Linked DNA regions of Homo sapiens: regions 2, 3 and 4 are each linked to region 1. The links are contacts of gene promoters, found by promoter capture Hi-C in blood cells and fetal thymus (Javierre and others, 2016). All regions are on one chromosome and are shown on one strand. The core of a region is centred on a gene start or on the middle of the fragment in contact, and the rest is flanking DNA. Distances in the headings are between cores, read along the strand shown.

Region 1 (2,600 bases), core at 32-2,531:
AGAATGCACAATTTTGTTTTGAAATGTAAAATTCCAGGTATCATCTGACTGCTCTATACAGCTTGCTAAGGAAGCTAGTATACCATTAAAGATGAGCTAGTATACTGTTAAAGATTAGAGACTCCACCTAAGAGCTAAATTTACAAGATTCAAGACAAGAAGAACAAAAGCAAGACACAAACACATAATATCCTCACAACACTAACAAAAGCTTCATTTGTTAGAAGCAACAGCTATTTCGGCTGTCCTATTTCTTTTACACAAGTTGACCACAGGCAGTCTTAACTAAGATGTTGCTCATCTGAAGAACTCAAAATAGTGGTCAAAAAAGTGTGAGATAAGGCAGAGAATACTGGATTCTAGTCCCAACTTCTGACAGACTTTTCTGGCACTGGTTCCTTTTCCAGAAAAGTAGATTTAAAATAGATAAATTCTAGGGTCCTTTCCAATCCACCCCACCGCACAAAGCATACTGGTTTGGGGTCATTAGTGGTGTTAGAATGCTGATCATTCTTAGATAGCAAAAATCTGAATAACAACACATTTATAAGCAACTGAGGAAAACAGGAAACCCAATTCCTTCCGATACCGGTTTTATTTGGAAAACTTTACTGGTTTTGTTTTGTTTTTGACAATTCCTTCAAAAGAAGGAGGTTTTGTTTTGTTTTGTTTGACGAGTCCTTCAAAAGAAGTGGAGGGGGGGCAAAATCCTGAAATGAACATTGCTGCTACAATGCTTGGTTTTCCGAACTGTAGATATTGCAACTTTCAAGGTACAGAACCGAATAAATGGCCTAAAAACAAAGGTTGGACTTGGAGTTTTTCAAAGCAAATGAGGCAGAATTACGGATGCCACAGCTCAGGCAAGGGGTCCGAAGGGACCCCCATTTGAAATGCTCTCTTTAGTTCTTACTATGAAAGTGAGTCCCTGAAGCCTCCAAACGCAACGAAATGTCTCTGGAGCTCAGAAAGACTGGACAAGCCCGAGACAGGCCCGCAGACTTACCCGACCCAGACCAACCGGCTCCTACCCAGCAAGAGCCGCTCGCCCCCCACCCCGTTTATGGAGACCCAGTGAGGCCTTAGGACTCTGGGAAACCATTCCCTAGTCCACTGGACCCTCCTTCCTTCTGCAAGGCTCGTGCCTCACTTGATATTCTTGTCTATAGTCCCCTCAGCCTCCAAAAAGAAGACCTCCGCCTGCCAAAGACCCTCTTTTACCTTCTTCAGCTCTAGATCCACGGGGGCGGCCATCTTGGTGCACTGTAAGCGCCTGCGCAGTGGGAGTTGGACTGAAATAGGGTGGGGAAGGGCGCGTCTTACTTTGTGCGCCGGTCTTTCTTCTGCGCCTGCGCATGAGTTGGACTAACCGGGCTTCTTATCTTTCTCTGAGAATTGACTCCTGAAATATTTGGGTTTCGGATTCCGTGTCTTCACTACCTGACCGGTCAGGTCTGGCTTGCTCCTCCGTATCTTCCAGACATAGCCCAACGCGCAGATTTCCCATGTGGCTTTAAGCAGTTTGCCAGCTAGCTTAATATGTGCTGCTAAATTGAGATGTATGTAGATGAGGTCAAACCCTCATCAGTCGATCAGTCCTTCAGCTAGTCGCTGTGCTCTCAGGAATGAGTAAGAGTAAGTCCAGAACCTCAGGCATGACAGTTTGGGAAAGACTATTGGAAAGCTTGTCTGGAGTGTTCTTTCCAAAACGAACTTATTACTTCCAAAAGCTTCCCAAAGACATTCTAGGCACAGTGGTTCTCAAGAGAGGCTGAATACGTTTGTTTAAAAACAAAAAAATGCAGGTTCTCTGGGTCTCATCTCAAACGTACTCAGAATCTTTGAGAATGGGGTCTGGAAATTTGCACTTTTGCAGACTACCCCAGTGACCTAATGGTGCAACTCCTCCGCGGATCACTTTTTTGAGAATCTCTGCCATAAAAGGACCTGGCATTTGAACCAGAATAGATAATAATTGACTTTTGGAAATGGAAAAAAAAGTTAACCTACTCTAAAAACTGTTATGCTAAGAGAAAGTGCTACATAAATAATTAGGAAATTTATTTTATTTTTTAAAAAAAGAAAGAAAGAGAGAAAGAAAACAAACTGTTAGGGAGATGAAAGGGCAGGGAATTTGGAACCAGCCTAATCTAGATTCAAGGCTTGGTCTGCCTTTAGCCTATGTCTGGTTCCATTTACTAATTGTGTGACTTTAAGCAAGTCACTTGGATATTTTGTGGGGTTTTTTTTTTTTTTTGTACGTTTGTTTGTTTCTTGAGACAGGATCTTGCTCTGTCACCCAGGCTCGAGTGCAATGGTGCAATCACGACTCACTCCAGCCTCTACCTCCCGCGCTCAAGCGATCCTCCCACCTCAGCCTCGTGAGTAGCGCTGGGACTACAGGCGCGCGCCACCCACACTCAGCTAATTTTTATATTTTTGTACAGACGGGTTTTCACCTTGTTGCCCAAGCTGGTCTCAAACTCCTGAGCTCAAACAATCCGCTCGCCTTGGTCGCCCAAAGTGCTGTAGTGCTTTGATATTAAAGGCTTGAGCCACCGCACCCGGCCACATTTTTTTTTTTTTTTTTTTTTTGAGCC
Region 2 (2,600 bases), core at 51-2,550, 400 kb after region 1:
ATTGCATATCCTTGATCAGCCCTTTTTCCCATCCTGCCCTATGGTTCTCTAGCCACCTGTGCATGCATGTGTATTTCTGCCTGGTTCTATGGTGTGTGGATGTGTGTGCATGAATCTGTCATATAGAGGGGGTCCGAGCTGGAATCCTAGAGCATTGCTGCCCTGGGGCCTGATGTTCTTGGCTTCCTCAGAGCATGTAACAGGAAATTAAATGGGATGAGTGTTTGGTGTGGTTTGTGTCTGATGAGTTTTTTAACATTCAGGTGTAGATTGTTTCAGCTTCTCATGTTTCATTTTCCTGAAGATTTATGTTTTTGTCTACCTTGTGAGCAGGCTTTTGGAAGAACCTGTTTGATGCAAAAAAGAAAATGAAAAACAAAACAAAAAATCCCCAAAACCTTATTATGGGAGCCCGTCGGTCTTAGAAGCTGTTTGACATGTATAATAAATGGCATTGACTGGGCCTGTTTTACATTTGGTGAGAACATTCCATAATCTTCCCTGTGAATATTTGTTTTTCCTTCTCATGCTGAGGATTTCCATATAGAGTATTTTATTCTTCCATTTTAAATCTTATTTTTGCCTAGGTTTTTTTTTAGCATGAGTTATGTTTTCGTCTGATAAGGGATCTATGTCCAGAGAAGTCTGAACCAAAACGATTCCTATCATTTCAGACTCCTTTGATCTTTTGTTTTTGGAACAGCAGAGCTCAGGATTGAACATAATGTTTTTTCTTTTTTTTTTTTCTTTTTTTTGAGACAGTCTTGCTCTATCGCCCAGTCTGGAGTGCAGTGGCGTAATCTTGGCTCACTGCAACCTCCGCCTCCTGGCTTCAAGTGGCTAATATTGTATTTTTAGTAGAGATGGGGTTTCACCATGTTGGCTAGGCTGGTCTCAAACCCCTGACCTCAGGTGATCCACCTGCCTCGGCCTCCCAAAGTGCTGGGATTACAGGCGTGAGCCACTGCACCTGGCCCTTAGTGTTTTTCTTACTGTCTGCTAGACACAGAATTACTTAATTTTGGCACTGTTGAGATTTTGGGCCAGATTATCATTTGTTGTAGAAACCAATGCTGGCATTGTAGGATGTTTATTATTTTGATTTTGATTTAGGATTAACTTCATCCCTGGACTCTACCTGCTAGATGCCAGTAGCACCCTCTTCCACAATTGTGACAACTAAAAATGTCTATGCCTCTGAGAAAGGCAAAATCCCTCCCTACCCACATTGAAGACCACTAAGAAGAAGCTAGCTGTCTTCCCTACCTTGGTCTGATTTGAGAATTAGATGGCACAGACTGGCAAACTCAAAACAGAAACTCACAAAACTTTGATATCCACTGGATCAAGTACTATGCCAAGTCAAGGGGATGCAGAAGAAAAAAATAGCCATACATACACGAAGAACTACAGTCACATTAACTTCAAGCAGATGAAGCCTGTAACTTGCTGGTTCTATACCCTGAAAAAATGGACCTGTAAATGAATCTGTTTGGGTTAACAAGGCTGCCACCATATAGCTGGTTTTCATTCTCTGCCCCATCAAGCTCCTCAACTTTCTGTATTATCTGAACCACAAAGCACCATACACCTCCCTTTGGACTTTTGTACAAAATTCCCTTACTGTAAGACATGCCCTTTGTCTAATTTCTGATGCTGAATCTTGCCACTGGGAACACTGAATGTATCTTCACCTATGGGCTGAAGGCCTGGCTCAGTTTTAGATACAGTAAGTACTGGGCAACTGGGGGCAGATTGGTGCGTGCTTTCCTTGGCAGGATTATGTGCACTTCAGGTCCCTTGGGTGACAGTCTTCTTGTTGACTAGGTATTTTGTTACCCCTTTCAAGGCAGGCTGGAGGTTTGTGAGTTCCTTCCATGGTTCAGTTTTTTTTTTTTTTTTTTTTTTTTTTTGAGAGTGTCACTGTCACTCAGGTTAGAGTACGGTGGCACGATCTCAGCTCACTGCAACCTCCACCTCCCAGGTTCAAGTGATTCTCCTGCCTCAGCGTCCTGAATAGCTGGGATTACAGGTGGCCGCCACTATCCCCAGCTAATTTTTTTGTATTTTTAGAAGAGATGGCGTTTCACCGTGTTGGCCAGCTGGTCTTGAACTCCTGACCTCAAGTGATAGCCCTCCTCGGCCTCCCCAAGTGCTAGGATTACAGGCATGAGCCACCACCCCTGGCTTCATTCTTCAGGAAACCATCTAGTTCAATTTAGCTTCAAAGAATGTCTTTCCCTTTTTGGTACAGTGGGATCTTACCTCTGGTTGCATCTAAAAAGCAATTCTGAATTTAAGAATCTTTAAACTCTTGGGACTGGTTAAGTGGTTTGAGTCTCAAAGGGACCTAAGTCATGGAGTGTCTGGAGGTGCTCAGGGTGGCATCTTGGAAAAGTAAATGGAATGGAAATTCAAGAGCCCACAGCAATCCCAGATAACTCAGAAATCTCAAAGAGAAGCTGCTTTCAGGTCTTTTTTGAGACAGTCGCTCTGTTGCCCAGGCTGAAGTGCAGTGGCGCTATCTCGGCTCACTGCAAGCTCCACCTTCCTGGTTCATGCCATTCTGCTGCCTCAGCCTCCCGAGTAGCTGGGATTAC
Region 3 (2,600 bases), core at 27-2,526, 380 kb after region 1:
CACCACACCCAGTAGAAAACTCTTTAATTATTGGGAAGCTGTCAAGCTTATGATGGAAGATGCAAGTTTTCTAAAATTCTTTTTTTTTTTTTTTTGAGATGTAGTTTCACTCGTTGCCTAGGCTGGAGTGCAATGACGCGATCTCGGCTCACCACAACCTCTGCTTCCCAGGTTCAAGCGATTCTTGTGCCTTAGCTTCCCTAGTAGCTGGCATTACAAGCATGCGCCACCACGCCCAGCTAATTTTTAGTAGAGATGGGGTTTCTCTATGTTGGTCAGGTTGGTCTCAAACTCCCGACCTCAGGTGATCCGCCCGCCTTGGTCTCCCAAAGTGCTGGGATTATAGGCTTGAGCCACCATGCCCTGACTAAGTTTTCTAAAATTCTAACTTTCACCTGAATACTTGAATTTTTTCACTGCCTACAAGTACTGTCAGATGTTTTCCTTGAGGTGACGAGGCTCACTTCGTTTATTGTTGTAAAAATGTCTGCCAAATATTTAAGTTTGAAAAACCATAATTTATCTTTCAGTTGTTAATTCAAATAAAACAAGATGTTCTATGAAAAAAGTAGCTAGATCAGCTTGCAACTTGAACAATGGCATAAGCATTTTCCCTACCTTGGCGTGCAGAAGTGCTTTATGTGTACTTCCCATTTTGTCATAGCAAATATTTAAAAATAGGGTCCTCAAGGGTCAAGATTCAATAAAATCAGTAAGTTTTTGGCCAGGCATGGTGGCTCAGCCTAGCACTTTGGGAGGCCAAGGTGGGCAGATTGCCTGAGCTCAAGAGTTCCAAACCAGCCTGGGCAACATGGTGAAACATGTTGTAGGTTTCTTGTATGTTTTTTGTATTTCTGTAAAAATACAAAAAATTAGCTGCATGTGGTGGTACCCGCCTGTAATCCCAGATACTCAGGAGGCTGAGGCACAATAATTGCTTGAACCCGGGAAGTGGAGGCTGCAGTGAGCCAAGATCGTGACACTGAACTCCAGCCTGGGCAACAGAGTGAGATTCTGTCTCCAAAGAAACCCCAAAACAAACAAAGTTTTACCATTTTATCAATGACATAGTTAAGTAAAACTGAATTTTTTAAATTAATTAATTAATTAATTTATTTATTTACTTACTGTGAGTGCATGGCAGTGAAGAACACACTGGCTATTAGTACAGTTTAGTGTCACTGTCTTAATGTATGCTAAGGCACCAGCAGTTCTACTCACCAGCGCTTTTGTGCCTTCAGTGCAAATGTTAACACAACGAAAAAGGCAGATAATGTCTTAGAATTATTATAGAAGGGCCAGGCGCAGTGGCTCACGCCTGTAATCCCAGCACTTTAGGAGGCCGAGGTGGGAGGATCACTTGAGGCCAGGAATTCAAGACCAGCGCAGCCAACACGGTGAAACCCCATCTGTACTAAAAATACAAAAAATTAGCTAGGTGCGGTGGCACATCCCTGTAGTCCCAGCTACTCGGAAGGCTGAGGCAGGACAATCGCTTGAACCCGGGAGGCGGAGGTTGCAGTGAGCTGAGATCACGCCACTGCACTCCAGCCTGGGCGACAGAGCAAGACTCCGTCTCAAACAAAACAAAACAAAACAAAACAAAACAAAACAAAACAAAAGAATTATTATAGAAATAGTTTTGACCATGAAGATCCCTTGAAAGAGTCTTGTCCCCACAATACTGAGTTTTCTATTGTTAATACTAAAATGGATATTAACTCTCTAGCATAATCTTAACACTATAGTATGGAAATTTTCAAAGACACAATATAGAGAATAGTATTACAGGTCACCATTTATCCATTACCCAGCTTCAACAACCATTAACATCTGCTATTCTTATTTCATTTAAGCCCTGACATGTTTTTCTTACATATTTTTAAATAAATCCCAGACGTCATATCATTTCATCCATAAATACTTCAGTATGAATCTCTAACTCATACGGACATTTAAAAAACCCCAAAGACTCTATCTTTATTATAACTAACAAAACTAACAGCAACTCCTTAATATTATCTAATGCTAAGCCATGGTCAGTTTTCCCCAGTTGCCTCAATAATATCTTTTTATGGTTGATTTATTTGAATCAGCTTCAGAATGAAGTCTATGCGTTGTAATCAGCTGATATGTCTATTTAATCTACAATAGTTTCCTTCCCTCCCCAACTTTTTTTTTTTATTTTAAAAAGGTCATTTATTAACTGAGGAAATTGGGCCATTTGTCCTAAAAAAAAATTTTCACATTCTAGATTTGGTGAACAATATGCTTGATGTGCCATCTAACATGTTCCTCCATCTCTAGTATTTCCTGTAAACTGATAGTTAGTCCAAAGATCTGATTAGATTCAAGTTCAATTTACTTGGCAAGAATACTTCCCAGGTGGTGCTGTGTACTTCTTCTTGCATCACATCAGCAGGAACATAATGTCTAGTTGTCCTACTTTTAGTGATGTTAAAACTGATCACTAGTGAGGACAGACTGATCCATCATAAATTCCACAGTAAGCTTTTCATCTAATAGTTTGAAAAATCATTGATGATCACCACTTTGGGATTTTACACTGTCTCTTTAACCTTCAAAAATTAGTTATATGT
Region 4 (2,600 bases), core at 29-2,528, 300 kb after region 1:
TCTCTCATTTATACCCAAACTTTTCTACCTTTGGAAGGGACATTAGGAGAGGCCACTGTGCTAGTCCAGATTGCTGGCAACAATAGTAGTTTAACAAGTGCCTCCCCTTCAGTCCACTCCAATTTATATAGATTAGGGCTATATAGCTACAGGACTAATGGACTATCTTAGCCACTGGATGATACAGCAGCATTTACTGTCAACTCAAATTTTGCCAGATGGGTTGAGGGCACAACTTAACCTATAGGGTCCTTAGAAATGCTGAAATAAAGATTTAAAGGTATAGTTACAATGTCTTGCCTAGGAATTATCTATGCTTCTGGCACCTGCAGATGTATCTCTAGTCCTGGAACCTCTGCATCAGATGGCAAAAAAGAAAGTTGAGGTGATGTGGGCAAGAATCATATAGTCATACCAACACCCTCCCTCAACCCCTCTCCCCTAGATTTTCCTAGAAAAATGGAGGAATCTCTCCAATGGGGATTCTCCCTTGGCCCCCTCATGGTGCATGTGAGCATACCCTCATGAAAACATTTAAACAAGTGCTTCATAACTTTATCCCCTCCCCCATTTTACTTGATTTTTAAATTTTATTTTCTTATTTTATTTGGTTTTTTTTTTTTAGAGACAGGTTCTTGTTTTGTTGCCCAGGCTGGAGTGCAGTGGCATGATATCTCACTGCAGCTTTGAACTCTTGCGCTAAAGTGATCCTCCCGCCTCGTCCTCCCAAAGTGCTGGGATTATAGGCATGAGCCACTGCACCCTCACTCACCTCATTTTAGACAATGAATGTTTCAAGTGCTCATTCCAATTCCCTATTAAACTGCTACTCTGAGGATGACAATGCAACGTGGTATGTCTGTTTGATGTGATATCTCTTTGTCCACTGTTGGACATCATGGGCTGTAAAGTGTGACTCTTGGTTTGAAGAAATGTAACTTGGTGGTCCAAATTAGTACAGTATCTTTTGTTCCAATAATTTAATAGTATTTTCAGCATTCGTATCTACCACTAGGTGTGCAAAGCCCAGTCCAAAGTAAGTGTCTATTCCTGGCCGGGTGCAGTGGCTTACGCCCGTAATCCCAGCACTTTGGGAGGCCAAGGCAGATGGATCACCTGAGGTCAAATTTTGAGACCAGCCTGGTCAACATGGTGAAACCCAGTCTCTATTAAAACTACAAAAGAATTAGTCAGGTGTGGTGGCAGGCGACTGTAATCCCAGCTACTCGGGAGGCTGAGACAGGAGAATCACTTGAACCCAGGAGGAGGAGGTAGCAGTGAGCGGAGATCACACCACTGCACTCCAGCCTGGGTGACAGACCAAGACTCCATCTCAAAAACAAAAAAACCAAAAAACCAAAGTAAGTGTCTATTCCTGTCAGACCCCATTTGTAGCCCCCAGGGCTGCCAGCATTTGTTCAATGTAATCTATCTACCAGCTATGTGTGAGGCCTTCCAACGGGGGAATGTGCCCCAGGGCCACCTGCATTCTCTGTCTCTCTTGCTGGCAGACAAAACAGTTCTTGTTGGCATTTTGTGCTTCAAAGGGTGCAAGAGGAATATGTCTAGATCTCTACATTGCCACAGTATTCTTAGGTCCACTCATTCCATGGACCCAGGTGGCCACCTCAAGTGAGCACACTGGGAAATTCACTCACTGGTGCCAATCACCTTCCAATCCAGGAAAGTGATTCTTCTATTGGGCATTGATATGTCCTACTTTAATCTATCCCTCAAATTTCCATAGTGATTTTCTTAGGGGATCCCTTTAAGAGGGCAGTTTTCTATTGCTCTTCAGCCTGACCATATGATCACGTCAGTATGCACCACCCATGAATCAGTAAAAACCCAAATGTAGTGGCAAACAGAATGCAATAGCCTATAAGGTAAGTTGTTTTTACCTTCTTAGCCTTCCAAACAAGATGCTGCACATTCACCTTGGAACTGCGATTATAAACCAAGAAGCTCTTTGCTGTTTATAGGACACTCTCCAGGTAGCAGTAGAATCTGACAGCTCCAGCCAGGTGCTGTGGCTCACGCCTATAATCCCAGCACTTTGGGAGGCCGAAGAGGGCGGATCACCTGAGGTCAGGAGTTTGAGACCAACCTGGTCAACATGGGGAAACCCCATCTCTACTAAAAATATAAAAATTAGCTGGGCATGGTGGTGCACACCTGTAATCCCAGCTAGTCGGGAGGCTGAGGCAGGAGAATCGCTGGAACCTGGGAGGCGGAGGTTACAGTGAGCAGTGAGCCAAGATCGCAACACTGCACTCCAGCCTGGGTGACAGAGCAAGGCTCCATCTCAAATAAAATATAAAATAAAATAAAATAAAATAAAATAAAATAAAATCTGGCAGCTCCTCAGGTGGTTCAAAAGTCAATTCTAGGGGAAAAAGTCTATCTGCTTGGAAATATGGTATCTCCTGGCATTCCCCCAGTGGTATGTTCCATCAGAAACAACTTCCATTTTGTTATGGAGCTCTTCCAGGCACTTCTCTCCCCATTGAATGGTTTCTCCAACATCATCCAAAATGTTATGGGTATTTTATGTTTAAGATTATTTTATATCTTTCAGTTATAGTGGAAGTTTTACTTAA

What was found. The method cuts DNA at HindIII sites, captures the fragments that hold promoters and counts their contacts. A CHiCAGO score of 5 or more calls a contact.
Region 2: a contact is called between a fragment that was not itself captured here and the fragment with the promoter of PFDN1 in region 1, in 9 of 17 cell types (fetal thymus, naive CD8 T cells, non-activated CD4 T cells and 6 more). The highest score is 12.0, in fetal thymus.
Region 3: a contact is called between a fragment that was not itself captured here and the fragment with the promoter of PFDN1 in region 1, in 1 of 17 cell types (fetal thymus). The highest score is 6.0, in fetal thymus.
Region 4: a contact is called between a fragment that was not itself captured here and the fragment with the promoter of PFDN1 in region 1, in 1 of 17 cell types (monocytes). The highest score is 6.1, in monocytes.

What each region holds. Positions count from the first base shown.
Region 1 is chr5:140,301,820-140,304,419 of GRCh38, forward strand. It overlaps PFDN1 (prefoldin subunit 1), which reads right to left and starts at 1,282. Exons shown (of 4, transcript NM_002622.5): 1 at 1,222-1,282. The coding sequence starts at 1,254. RefSeq lists an enhancer at 1,019-1,298 and a silencer at 1,187-1,391. The HindIII fragment of the contact is 1,473 bases long and covers 210-1,682 here.
Region 2 is chr5:140,706,192-140,708,791 of GRCh38, forward strand. It overlaps ZMAT2 (zinc finger matrin-type 2), which reads left to right. Exons shown (of 6, transcript NM_144723.3): 6 at 1-495. Among named protein-coding and RNA genes, the nearest start is that of ZMAT2, 7.0 kb to the left of the region's middle. The HindIII fragment of the contact is 9,003 bases long and covers 1-2,600 here.
Region 3 is chr5:140,686,525-140,689,124 of GRCh38, forward strand. The region is part of intron 2 of HARS1 (histidyl-tRNA synthetase 1); the gene reads right to left. Among named protein-coding and RNA genes, the nearest start is that of HARS1, 3.5 kb to the right of the region's middle. The HindIII fragment of the contact is 2,465 bases long and covers 45-2,509 here.
Region 4 is chr5:140,597,601-140,600,200 of GRCh38, forward strand. It overlaps a transcript of TMCO6 not described here. Among named protein-coding and RNA genes, the nearest start is that of SLC35A4, 34 kb to the left of the region's middle. The HindIII fragment of the contact is 4,151 bases long and covers 1-2,600 here.